Regions from separate parts of the Homo sapiens genome. Here all the other regions are linked to region 3. Evidence: promoter capture Hi-C in human tissues and cell types (Jung and others, 2019). All regions are on one chromosome and are shown on one strand. Each heading gives the region's core, a stretch centred on a gene start or on the middle of the fragment in contact. The rest is flanking DNA. Distances are from core to core; before and after follow the strand shown.

Region 1 (4,082 bases), core at 566-3,065, 340 kb before region 3:
GGAACTGGGCTTGTCAACTGTGATTCACCGTAGGGAGACATGGATGGTCGTTTACTGGAAATCTGAATGCCAGTATCCTTCATTCTTTCCCTTTTGGCTGGTCAGAGTGCTCAGAGAAGAGAGGTGGAGAGTAGCTGCCAGTGATTTGGGAAGTGATCAGAGAAGAAAGCTGAGGTTCTCAGCATGCAGTGAGGAAATAGTCACTTAACGCCCCTGTTCTCCACATGCCACCTTTGTCCTCAGCCACGCCTGGTGCCCCAGCCCAGAGATCCTCCTTTTTACTCTCTCCGGAGGTGAAATCTCCAGCCCTCTGCCTGATGAGAGAGAGAAACCTGCTGCTCGGAGAGTGGAAGAGGGGAACTAAGATTTTAACTGCTTCCCAATCACCTTTCACCCAGTTATCCTGATTCTTTGGCTTGCCCAGTACCAGAGATATCTAGGACTGCCAATTCCCATTTTTTTTTCTGTTTTTCTTTCTTTCCCCACCCCCCCTTGGATTTTGCCATGAAAATAGGGCTACTCTTAACTTTCCCTGGGTTTCAGCTTTCTTGGGGCTGCTGAGTCGATTACCACTCACCCATCTGTTTTCTATCTTCCAACTTATTTTTCCCCCACTATTGTCTACTCTGTTCTCTCTGTCCTCATGAGTTTGTGTCTTTAAACAAAATCCCTTTATAATAGTTTTAGTGAGTTTTGGGAGGAGCAAAAGTAGATGGGTGGATTCAATGCACCATCTTAACCTGGAAAAAAACTCCAATGGTATTAGGGAGATGTCTCCTCCCTGCATTCCCCTCCTTGTGAGCCCCTTTGGATGACAGACAGGCAAGTGAGAAACTAAGTAATGGAACCAAAGGCCTGGGATGGAAGCCGTGTCTCCCCATGGACAATGCTGTTCCACTACAGAATCCAAGCTTCTTCCCTCAGTCATGGCCTGAGTCAGCCTTTGAGGGAATAAAGGGCTGGAGTCCAGATTATGATGGCGTAGGTTGGAAGGGTAGGAAGCCAAGAAAAACTAAGGAAGCCTGCCTGGAGGAAGCACTGCAGCAGCAGGAAAAGCAGAAGATACAGAGTCTCTTTATCTGCATGGTGTCCTTATCTCCCAAATGAGAGAATTCATCTCTTCCAACTCTGCATCTATGACTCTGTGGGGATAAAAGTCACTCCAGAAAGCCTGTCTGCTTTCTTGCCCTGTTCCTCTTTCCCGTCTGTTGCTTTGGGATGAGGTGATAATGATTGGGAACTATTTGGGTAGATTGGATAGGTTGAAATGGAGGAAAAAGAAAACCAGCATAGTTCCTTTTTCCTAGAATGAGTTATGGGCAAAGATATATCATTCCACTTTATTCCTTTCTCTTTAAAGCTCAGGCCTAACAGAACCTAGCAGAGAGAAAAGGCAGTGATATAATTGGCTGGGGGAAATTGGAGGGGCAGAAGCTGTGATGATGGTGGTAGCCAAATGGTGGTCACAGCTGTGGGGGTTGTGTAATCAATAACTGGAGGAGCTTAGCAGAGCGGCTTGCTTTGTTCCATAGATGTAACTTGAAAGTACCCTCTGGGAGGCTGAGCTGGGCAGATCACTCAAGGCCAGGATTTTGAGACCAGCCTGGCCAACATGGCAAAACCCTGTCTCTACTAAGAATACAAAATTTAGCTGGGCATGGTGGCACACGCCTGTAATCCCAACTATTCAGGAGGCTGAGGCACAAGAATCACTTGAACAACCAGGAGGCAGAGGTTGCAATGAGTCTAGATGGCGCCACTGCACTCCAGCCTGGGTGACAAGAGTGAGACTCTGTCTCAAAAAAAGAAAAGAAAAGAAAAGAGGGCCAGGCGCGGTGGCTCATGCCTGTAATCCCAGCACTTTGGGAGGCCAAGGCAGGTGGATCACGTGAGGTCGGGAGTTCAAGACCAGCCTGACCAACATGGAGAAACCCCGTCTCTACTAAAAAAATACAAAATTAGCCAGGCATGGTGGCGCATGCCTGTAATCCCAGCTACCTGAGAGGCTGAGGCAGGAGAATCTCTTGAACCCGGGAGGCGGAGGTTGCAGTGAGCTGAGATCATGCCACTGCACTCCTGCCTGGGCAACAAGAGCGAAACTCCGTCTCAAAAAAAAAAAGAAAAGAAAAGCAACCAAGACACTGAAGTCAGTGGAGAAATACTCTGGCCTCCTGGTCATCCAGGCAGACAATGCTGAGGGCTGTTCTACAAGGTTTCTCAGTGGACGCCAAGCCAGACTGAGCCTCAGTTGCCCATGGCAGTAACTGGCCCATCAGCATACCTTACTGTTGGCTTCTCTCCCTTTCACAGCTTGCTTTCCCCATTTCTTCACTCTTATTTCCTGGAATCACCTCCCAAGTAAATTACCTACATCCAAGCCCTTGTCTTAAGATCTGTTCTTGGGAGAATCCACGCTGAGATGGGTATCCTCCAATCTAAAAGTGAGTCTGAGCAGGTTGTTCCACCCCTGGGAAATAGTGCTTCCAGTCTCCTGCATGTGTGGCTGGTCTCAGCTAAAAAGCTCCCACATGAGATCTTGAGAACATTTATATTTTCAGGAGTTCTGGGTGATTGGGCTTGTGTGTGCCAGAAAGGCAACGGGGCTTGTTGGTGGCTGGGTAAACAGAATCCCAGGTTCCCACCTCCTTCGCTGGCTTGTGGGTGGACACACAGCCAGTCCTAAAGGTACCATGCACACAGAAACCTACGCTTTCTCCCCAACTCTTGCTGTTTCACAGTCTTGCACACACATTCTGCATTAAGAAGCAATTCCGGTGGCTCATGCCTGTAATTCCAGCACTTTGGGAGGCCGAGGCGGGTGGATCTTGAGGTCAGGAGTTCGAGACCAGCCTGGCCAAGATGGTGAAACCCTGTCTCTTCTAAAAATACAAAAATTAGCTGGGCGCAGTGGCAGGTGCCTGTAATCCCAACTACTCGGGAGGCTGAGGCAGGAGAATCACTTGAACCCAGGAGGCGGAGGTTACAGTGAGCCAAGATTGCACCACTGCACTCTAGCCTGGGCGACAGAGAGACTTCATCTAAAAAAAAAAAAAGAAGAAGCAATTCCACCCCTCCGTGGGCAGCGTCACGCCCCAGCAAGAGGTCCCCATGGGCTATGAGGAGGAGAGGGCCATTGGGAGGGATCAAGGCAGGAGGAGTCACTTTGGAATTCTTGGATGAAGAGGCTCGGGGAACACAGAACATCTCCTCCTCTACTGGCACAGTCCAACGGGTCAAAGCATTATATGATCAACCCTTAAAGGGGTCATTTAGAACTCTGAATAATTAAGCTTTCAAAGGATTGACCAGTGGGAGGGATGTTTTTCTGAAATCGTGCCATCTCAACAGATGGGGAGGATGGACAGAGGAATGGGGCTATAGGCAACCTTTGATTTCTAGCTTCTGTTTGAAAGACTGATTTTGTCTTGACCAGTCAGGCATTCATTCAACAAACTTGTATTGGGCACCTGATCCAAAGATGACTAAAACCAGCCCCTGTTCTCACTGTTCCAAAATTAGTCAGACGTTTGATTTAAAAGTAGTTGTGATTTCTTTTCCAGGAGTCTTGAAGGACTTCTGACCATATGGGTAGGGACAATTTTCTGAGATGGATTTGGGGTGAGGACATTGCTTAAAAGGAGGTATAAGGGCTGGGCGTGGTGGCTTACACCTGTAATCCCAGCAATTTCGGAGGCCGAGGCAGGTGGATCACCTCAGGTCAGGAGTTTGAGACAAGCCTGACCAACATGGAGAAACCCCGTCTCTACTAAAAATACAAAATTAGCTGGGCGTGGTGGCGCATGCCTGTAATCCCAGCTACTCAGGAGGCTGAGGCAGGAGAATTGCTTGAACCTGGGAGATGGAGGTTGCAGTGAGCCGAGATGGCGCCACTGTACTCCAGCCCAGGCAACAAGAGCGAAACTCCATCTCAAAAAAAAAAAAAAAAAAAAAAAAGAGGTATAAGGGAGGAGATGGGAGGGGACTGTGGGGAGGAAGGATAAAGAGAAAGAGGGGCATCCTCCGAAACTCCAAACAGTGAAGTCTTCCCTACCCTACCCCTACCCATCATGTGGAACAAGGAA
Region 2 (4,203 bases), core at 1,511-4,010, 500 kb before region 3:
CCTATCTGGCCACTTTCCCCTGCTTCTTCCCTTGGCTCTTTCTGTCTTGAGGCCATTAGGAGTCCCGGCTCTGTGGTCTCAAAGGCTCTTTGTGCCTCTTACTTGTCAACTTGAGGCAGGTGGTTTAACCTCCCTAAGCCTTGCTTTTCTCATCTTCCAAATGGGTTTATACCACCTACTTCGGAGGGTGGTTGTAAGGATTAAGGGAAATCATGTATCTAAAGCACTTAGAACCTGGAAGAACAAAGCACTCAATAAAGTCGGTGGTAATTTGACAAACCTTTACGGCGCCCCTGTTAGCATCCAGGGGCTGTTCTGGGCACTTGGAAGAGAAAAGGTGACCAGGCTGCTGCTTTGTGGAGCTTCCATGCTGGTGAGGAAGCCAGACATGAAACCCAATTACTAAACAGCGTCATATGTGATGGAATGGGTGTTTGCACAAGGCGCCGAAAGCCCAGAAAAGAGGCCCAGTGTCAGGGGATCCCACAAAGCTTCCCAGAGGACAGGACCTTTGAACTGGTTCTCGGAAGATGCTGAGTGAACGGACAGGCAAAGGACATTTCAGACAGAGGGAAAGGTGGGGGCAAAAATGTACCAAAGCAGGCCTTGCTCGGGGGACAGTGAGAATTTTGGTACAGCCAGGGCTCGGCCTTGAGAAAGCAGGCTGTCTAGGTGAGGTCTAGGCAAGGTACAAGTTCTTGCACCCCAAGTTTGCATTTGGACTTTATCCTAGTTCCTCTCAAATTCAAGGTGCAAGGCACCAGCTGTGGATCCTGATAAAATGCAGTTTTTATTTATTATTTTTGAGACAGTGTCTCACTCTATTGCCCCAGTTGGAGTGCAGTAACATGATCACAGCTCCACTGCAGCCTCAACTTCCTGGGCTCAAGCAATCCTCCCATCTAAGCCTCCTAAGTAGTTGGGACTACAGGCACACACCACCACACCTGGCTAATTTTTTTTTAAATTTTTTGTTGAGATGGAGGTCTTACTTTGTTGCCCAGGCTGGTCTTGAACTCCTGAGCTCAAGCCATCCTCCCACTTCGGCCTCCCATAGTGCTGGGATTATGGGCAGGAGCCTGCATCCCTGGCCAGAATGCAGTTTTTAATCCAGCAGGTCTGGGGTGGGCTGAGAGTCTGCATTTCTTTTTATTTATTTATTTATTTGTGTGTGTGTGTGTTTAGGGCGCCAGGGGTTGTTGTTTTTTGGTTTTTGTTTTGAGACAGGGTCTCGCTCTGTCACCCAGGCTGGAGTGCAATGGCATGATCTCAACTCACTGCAACCTCCGCCTCCCAGCTTCAAGCAATTCTCATGCCTCAGCCTCCCAAGTAGCTAGAACTACAGGTGTGCACCACCATGCCTGGCTAATTTTGTATTTTTAGTAGAGACAGGGTTTCGCCATGTTGGCCAGGCTGAGAATCTGCATTTCTTTTTATTTATTTATTTATTTGTGTGTGTGTGTGTTTAGGGCGCCAGGGGTTGTTGTTTTTTGGTTTTTGTTTTGAGACAGGGTCTCGCTCTGTCACCCAGGCTGGAGTGCAATGGCATGATCTCAACTCACTGCAACCTCCGCCTCCCAGCTTCAAGCAATTCTCATGCCTCAGCCTCCCAAGTAGCTAGAACTACAGGTGTGCACCACCATGCCTGGCTAATTTTGTATTTTTAGTAGAGACAGGGTTTCGCCATGTTGGCCAGGCTGAGAATCTGCATTTCTAACTAGCTCCCAGGTGAGGCTGGTACTGATCTACCTACCCTGAGTAGTGAGGCTGTAATCCCACCACCAAGGAGCCCACAGAGGCTGTTACACTGAAAGGGGTGTTGTATACTGTGTCAGCCTTGACCTCCTGGGCTCAAGTGATCCTCCCACCTCAGCCTCCCAAGTAGCTGGGACCACTCCCACATCCAACCATTCTCCTCTTTCTCCTCAATAACAAAGTCCTGATTTTTAACTGGGTCCATTGCCATCCAGAATAAAAATGATACTGCCCAGCCTCTGTAGCAGCTAGGTGCAGTCATGTGTCTATGTTCTGGCCAATAAGCATTAAAGTGCACTGTTGCTTAGAGACACAGCTGACTCAGCTCCAAGGGTTCCCTTCTTGCCATCTGCCTTTCCTCTTCCTTCTAGCCTAAGATGCAGATGTGAGAACTGGAGCTTCTGCAGCCCTCTTGGACCACAAGATGGTCTTGAAGATGAGAGCCAGGTGCTAATGATACGGGATCCTGCTGCCTGCCTCCAGATTTCCTTTTGATTTTCCTTGTTTAAGTCACAGTTGTGTTTGCTTTGCTTTGCTTTTTGCTACATGCACTAGTCCTAACTGATGCAAGTGAAAAGAGAAGATTTGCTTTTTAGGAGGATGGCTGTGGCAGCAGAAAGGGCCTTTCTGAGGACCTCTCTCTCTTTAAACACCAGCCCTTTTCTCTCTCCATCTGAGCACCGTTGGGCAGGCATAGTAGATGCTGGTTGACTGAACTCTTCTTCACCAATTATACCAAATAATTGTTTTAAATATAACTGTTGAGTTTTAACATTTACTGTGTGTGTCTACTTGATGGGGGAAACTCAAAATCCACTTTATGGGAGCATAAATATATATTTCAGATTTTTTTTTTTTAGTGTACAGTTGGCATATTGTGGAGCATCAGTAATCTAAACTTTATTTTCTGAAATATATTGGGAAAACATTTCCATTGAATCAGTGCTGTCCAATAGGACATTCCTATCGCTATGTACTTTACTATGGTAACCTCTAGCCACATGTGGCTGTTGAACTTGAAATGTGACTAGTGCAACCAAGGAACAAAAACTTTACTGTATTGGCCAAGTGTGGTGGCTCATTCCTATAATCCTAGCACTTCAGGAGGTTGAGGCGGGAGGACAGCTTGAGCCCAAGAGTTCAAGACCAGCCTAGCAGTATGATGAAACCCCATCTCTACCAAAAAAAAAAAAAAAGTACAAAAATTAGCTGGACATGGTGGCGTGCCGGCATGCCTGTGGTCCCAGCTAGTTGGGAGGCTGAGGTGGGAGGATCACTTGAGCCCAGGAGGTCAAGGCTGCAGTGAGCTGTGATCACACCACTATACCCCAGCCTGAAGTGTAGACAGAGCAAGACCCTGTCTCAAAAAAGAAAAAAAAAATACTGTATTAATTTAAATTTTTAATAAATTAATTTAAATTGAAAGTGGCTGATAGCTACCGTATTGGCCAGCACAGCATGGAATAGCTCAGTTTTCATAACATCAAGAAAACATTTTAAGTTTCAATTTGATTCCATTTTTTCTTCCAGATATTAAGTGCACACTTTTTTCCTTGTGTTCTCTCTCATTACAGAAGCTACTCCATCCCTGCCTCACCTGAGCACCCCTTAGTGAACACTACCCTAGCCCTCCTCACCCTGGACCGGACACACATACAAAATACACCCACAACTCCCCTCCTCACCCCAAACGCCCCGCTTACCGCTGTCTTTGAGCTCTCTGTGTACGGCAGGGGCTTGGCCAGCTTCTCCACATCCGCCCCGCTGGAGCCCACCTGCGTGTATGAATAGGAGCCGCGGAAGTAAGGGTTGCTGCCCCAGGCCGAGCGCAAGATTCGCCGAGGTTTTGGAATGTTGGGGTTCCCTGATGGAGAGTCAGAAAAGCCAAGAGGAGGGAGGATAAGAAATGGCTGCATATGGAAGATGACCCCAAAGGGACAACCCCCCACCCCACCTCCAGGGCTCCGGGAGGACCAGACTGCCAGGGGTAGGCACGGAGGATAGAAGAGGAAGGAGGGAGGCTGGGGCTCGAGCTGTGTACCCACTCAGCGCCTCCTGTGACCCCCGGCAAAACGCTCCACCTTACTTTTCCTATCTATCTGAAAACACATGACACATAATCATGTTTCCCCGCCTAATATCGGGGGTTCTCGTGAGGTCCTCCTGGAATAGTGGGTGAAAAATGTTGAGCTGAAAGACTCAGAGAGTAAAAGGCAAATCCAGCTCTTAGCAACAGAGCACAATGGGCGGTGATCTCTGAGTGTTTTACCATCAGCCTTTAGAAAGGGGGAAGAGACACAGCGCCCATAATTCTGAGTGTGTCAAGTTCTAAACTGTCAGCAACTGAAGAGCCTTTGGCTGAATGTGGCACCCTGCAGTGGCTCTCCCGTGGGGCACAGCATCCGAGCTTCACGGTCTGGGGAGGAGAGAGCTGCCATGGGTCCACCA
Region 3 (3,949 bases), core at 1,031-3,530:
TTTGAGACGGAGTTTCGCTCTTGTTGCCCAGGCTGGAGTGCAATGGCATGATCTCGGCTCGCTGCAACCTCCACCTTCTGAGTTCAAGCGATTTTCCTGCCTCAGCCTCCCAAGTAGCTGGAACTACAGGCACTCACCACCATGCCCGGCTAATTTTTGTATTTTTAGTAGAGATGGGGTTTCACCATGTTGGCCAGACTGGTCTTGAACTCCTGACCTCCAGTGATCTGCCCGCCTCGGCCTCCCAAAGTGCTGGGATTACAGGCATGAGACACTGCGCCTGGCCAAGACCAGGAGTTTGAGACCAGCCTGGGAAACAAAGTGAGACCCCCCTGTCTACAGAAAAATTAAAAATTTTAGCTGGGCCTGGTGCCGTGTGCCTGTAGTTCCAGCTACTCAGGAGGCTGAGGTGGGAGGATACCTTGAGCCCAGGATTTCAAGGCTGCAATGAGGCATGATCAGGCCACTGTCCTCTAGCGTGGGTGACAGAGTGAGACCCTGTCTCTAAATAATAATCATAAGAACAACAAGGACCCTCTAAACGCACTGATATCTAAGGTGTATTAAGCGACCAAAAAAAAAAAAAAGAAAATCAAAGTGCAGAAAAACGTTAATAAGAGAAAAAAATATGTCTGTATTGTCTTGAGTGTGAAAAAATAATCTAAAAGCCTATGAAAGAAACTAATCATATTGGTTTCCTGTTGGTGAGGAGGGCTAAGAGCACGGAGACTTTTCCCTATGCTTTCTGTACTTTTTGATTTTGAGATATGTGAATGTAGGTTTCTCTCACTGCTCGAACTTTCACTAACCAAATTACTACATTCCAAATTCTCAAAAACAAATAGATTTACTTAAAAGTAGGCTGGGTGCGGTGTCTCACGCCTGTAATTCCAGCGCTTTGGGAGGCCGAGGCGGGCAGATCACCTGAGGTCGGGAGTTCGAGACCAGCCTGACCAACATGGAGAAACCCCATCTCTACTAAAAATACAAAATTAGCCAGGCGTGGTGGCGAATGCCTGTAATCCCAGCTACTCGGGAGGCTGAGGCAGAAGAATCACTTGAATCTGGGAGGCAGAGGTTGCAGTGAGCCCAGATCATGCCATTGCACTCCAGTCTGGGTAACAAGAGAGAAACTCTGTCTCAAAAAAAAAAAAAAAAAAAAAAGATTTGCTTAAAAGTTAACATCTCCGGCCGGGCGCGGTGGCTCATGCCTGTAATCCCAGCGCTTTGAGAGGCCGAGGCGGGTGGATCACGAGATCAGGAGATTGAGACCATCCTGGCCAAAATGGTGAAACCTCGTCTCTGCTAAAAATACAAAAGTTAGCTGGGGGTGGTAGCGCGCGCCTGTAGTCCCAGCTACTCGGGAGGCTGAGGCAGGAGAATCGCTTGAACCAGGGAGTCGGAGGTTGCAGTGAGCCAAGATCGCGCCGCTGCACTCCAGCCTGGCGACAGAGGGAGACTCCATCTCAAAAAAAAAAAAAAAAAAAAAGTTAACATCTCATCCAAATTTGCACCGAGTAGGAAAACAAAAGTTTAAAACATGAAACAGATGTTACTGAGGCCGAAAGGGTCTCCCAGGCCTGGGAGTCTGCAGCTTTTATGCAATTCTGCCCTCTGGCCACCGCCAGGGAAGAAAGGTTGTCTCCGTCTGCTGCATCGCCTTTGCCCAGCAATGAAGCCCCCAAGACAGCGGCAGCCGGTTGCCTGAACCTTCCTATCCTTGGGGGCACCCAGTGCAGGTGGATGACCCGACTCAACCTCCGCCAGGGCACCCTCGGGGCAGGACGGGTAGCAAGGAGGGGACAGAGATCGGCCCCAGGAGACCACGGAAGATCGCGCTCCTGGGGCCAACTTCAGCAGCGAGAGGCGGCCTTTGCCCACCGCCTCATCCCACCACGCCGCGGTCCTCCAAGAACCTTCCCAGCGGTTCTCTCCTCCTCTCAGGAGTAGAGGCCCTCTGAGACCGACGGGGAGGGACGGCTCGGGCCGGTCATCCGAGGGGCCGCACGGATTCCCTCCTCCGCCCAGCTCCACCCCCTCGAGGGGCGGCGGTCCGGGAGTGGCGACCCGGCTCCCCCATGGCGCGCGCCGTCGGGGCCCCTGGCCAGGCTCCGAGCGGGGTTGGCGGGGAGGGGAGGCGGGAGCGAGGGCGGGCGGTGGGAGGTGGGGGCGGGAAGGTCCGAAGGCGGCGGCCTGAGGCTGCACCGGGCACGGGTCGGCCGCAATCCAGCCTGGGCGGAGCCGGAGTTGCGAGCCGCTGCCTAGAGGCCGAGGAGCTCACAGCTATGGGCTGGAGGCCCCGGAGAGCTCGGGGGACCCCGTTGCTGCTGCTGCTACTACTGCTGCTGCTCTGGCCAGTGCCAGGCGCCGGGGTGCTTCAAGGTGAGGACGCGGGCGGGGTGCGCCCTGAGGGGCAGGCTAGGCGCGGTGGTGGTGGCGGGGATGGGTTCTGCTCAGAGCTCGGGTCAGCGCGCGGAGGGTCTCACGGCCCCGGCACCATACGGCCAGTAGGTCAGGGCGTGGGGACTCTTTGGGGGGGTCTCCGTGGGACCTGCCCAGGGACGCTCAAGTGTGCTTGGGCTGGCCCCGGGCCCGGACTTGCCCACACTGCCCGGCTGCCACTCCGCTGGCAAAGCAGAGGGCATGGCTCCCTCCCCCTCGGGGGCAGCCCAGCCCCCAGCCCATAGCCGTAGCCCCCTCTTCCTGGATTCTCGCTCTCACAACCAGCTTCCATCCGCAGGCCACCGTGTGACCCGCTCCTGCTCCTCCACCCCTTAGGACTCAGCGGGGCTCCGTCCTCTAGGAAGCCCCCATGCCCAAGAGTCCCCCAGAGTCCCTGCTTTGCTCTCAGGCTGCAGAACTAGCTGTGGCCTCCACCCTGCTCACCCCTCGTCCCTCCTCCCAGGGCAGCAGGGCAGTGTGTATGTTGTTTATATTGTTGCCTTGTTTGGTGAGATAGAGAAGGGCCTCTCCAGATAGAAGGTGTCTGTTTAGCAGTGCTCTGGGAAGACTGCAGCTGTCTCCTCGGGGTAACCCCTCCAAACAAAGATGTTAAGATGGGGCTGGAACAACCTCTGCAAGCGGGTGGGAGGATTAGCCAGTCCTGCACAGCAAGTGCCTGGCCGGGAACAGGGAGGGCAACCAGGGAGGGGGCATGCGGGGCTGGGCTGTGCTATGCAGACTGGGCGGTGGCTTCCACAGCACTGTGTGGGGACCAAACAGGTACAGGGGCCTGGTCTGTTCTGGCCCCAGGGGAGGGCCCCAGGCGGTCCACTGCTCCCTCCCCTCTGAGCCCTATCCTGGGGTCAGGGGAGGTGATGGGACCCCTGGGAGAGGGGCGTCTATGTGCCCAATACCAGCCTGGCTCCCTCGGGTTCCACCCCCATTCACCCGGTCACCGGAGCTCCAGCTCCAGCTCCAGCTCTGCCCCTCTCTCCCTCATTGGGGTCAGGGTGCCCGTGGCCAGCACGTGCGCGCAAGGCCATGTGGACAGCACCCACACACCACACTGCACCCACACCACACCTGTGCCCGGGCCCACCCTACCTCTTCCCCAAACCCTTAGAGGCCTAGGAGCAGCAAAGCTTGGTTCTCTACTCTCAGTTAAGTGCTCTCTGGGCTGAGAGACCTCCCCTCCTTCCCCTCCCCCACATCCACTCAGAGCCCTCCCTGCACTGGCCCCTCTAGCCTCCTTTCCAAGGTGGCAGACTCCTCTCGGCCCTCATCTGCCTGATGGCAATTCACTCATCCAATCAAGGAGGGCTTCTTGGAGGAAGGGTCTTTGATGTTTGTAGTCTGGGAGAGAAGGTGGAGGAGAAAAAAGGAGTTGGGGTGGCCTAGCAGGAGCTGAGTCACTTCCACAGGCAGCCATCAGCCCAGCAGGACTGAGGCCAGGGCTGCGTGGAGGGGGGAGGCTGTCTGTTCTGGGAGCTGGGACTGGGTACCGGGG

Evidence for each region. Contacts are between HindIII fragments. The study calls those that stand out against the background at their distance.
Region 1: a contact is called between a fragment that was not itself captured here and the fragment with the promoter of ADAM33 in region 3, in 1 of the 25 tissues and cell types used here (liver).
Region 2: a contact is called between a fragment that was not itself captured here and the fragment with the promoter of ADAM33 in region 3, in 1 of the 25 tissues and cell types used here (spleen).

What each region holds. Positions count from the first base shown.
Region 1 is chr20:4,018,998-4,023,079 of GRCh38, reverse strand. No RefSeq gene overlaps it. Among named protein-coding and RNA genes, the nearest start is that of RNF24, 5.5 kb to the right of the region's middle. The HindIII fragment of the contact is 4,326 bases long and covers 1-3,978 here.
Region 2 is chr20:4,182,910-4,187,112 of GRCh38, reverse strand. It overlaps SMOX (spermine oxidase), which reads right to left. Exons shown (of 7, transcript NM_175839.3): 6 at 3,459-3,619. Among named protein-coding and RNA genes, the nearest start is that of LINC01433, 8.1 kb to the left of the region's middle. The HindIII fragment of the contact is 6,680 bases long and covers 1-4,203 here.
Region 3 is chr20:3,680,341-3,684,289 of GRCh38, reverse strand. ADAM33 (ADAM metallopeptidase domain 33) reads left to right here and starts at 2,280. Exons shown (of 22, transcript NM_025220.5): 1 at 2,280-2,382. The coding sequence starts at 2,286. RefSeq lists an enhancer at 1,962-2,855. The HindIII fragment of the contact is 20,528 bases long and covers 1-3,949 here.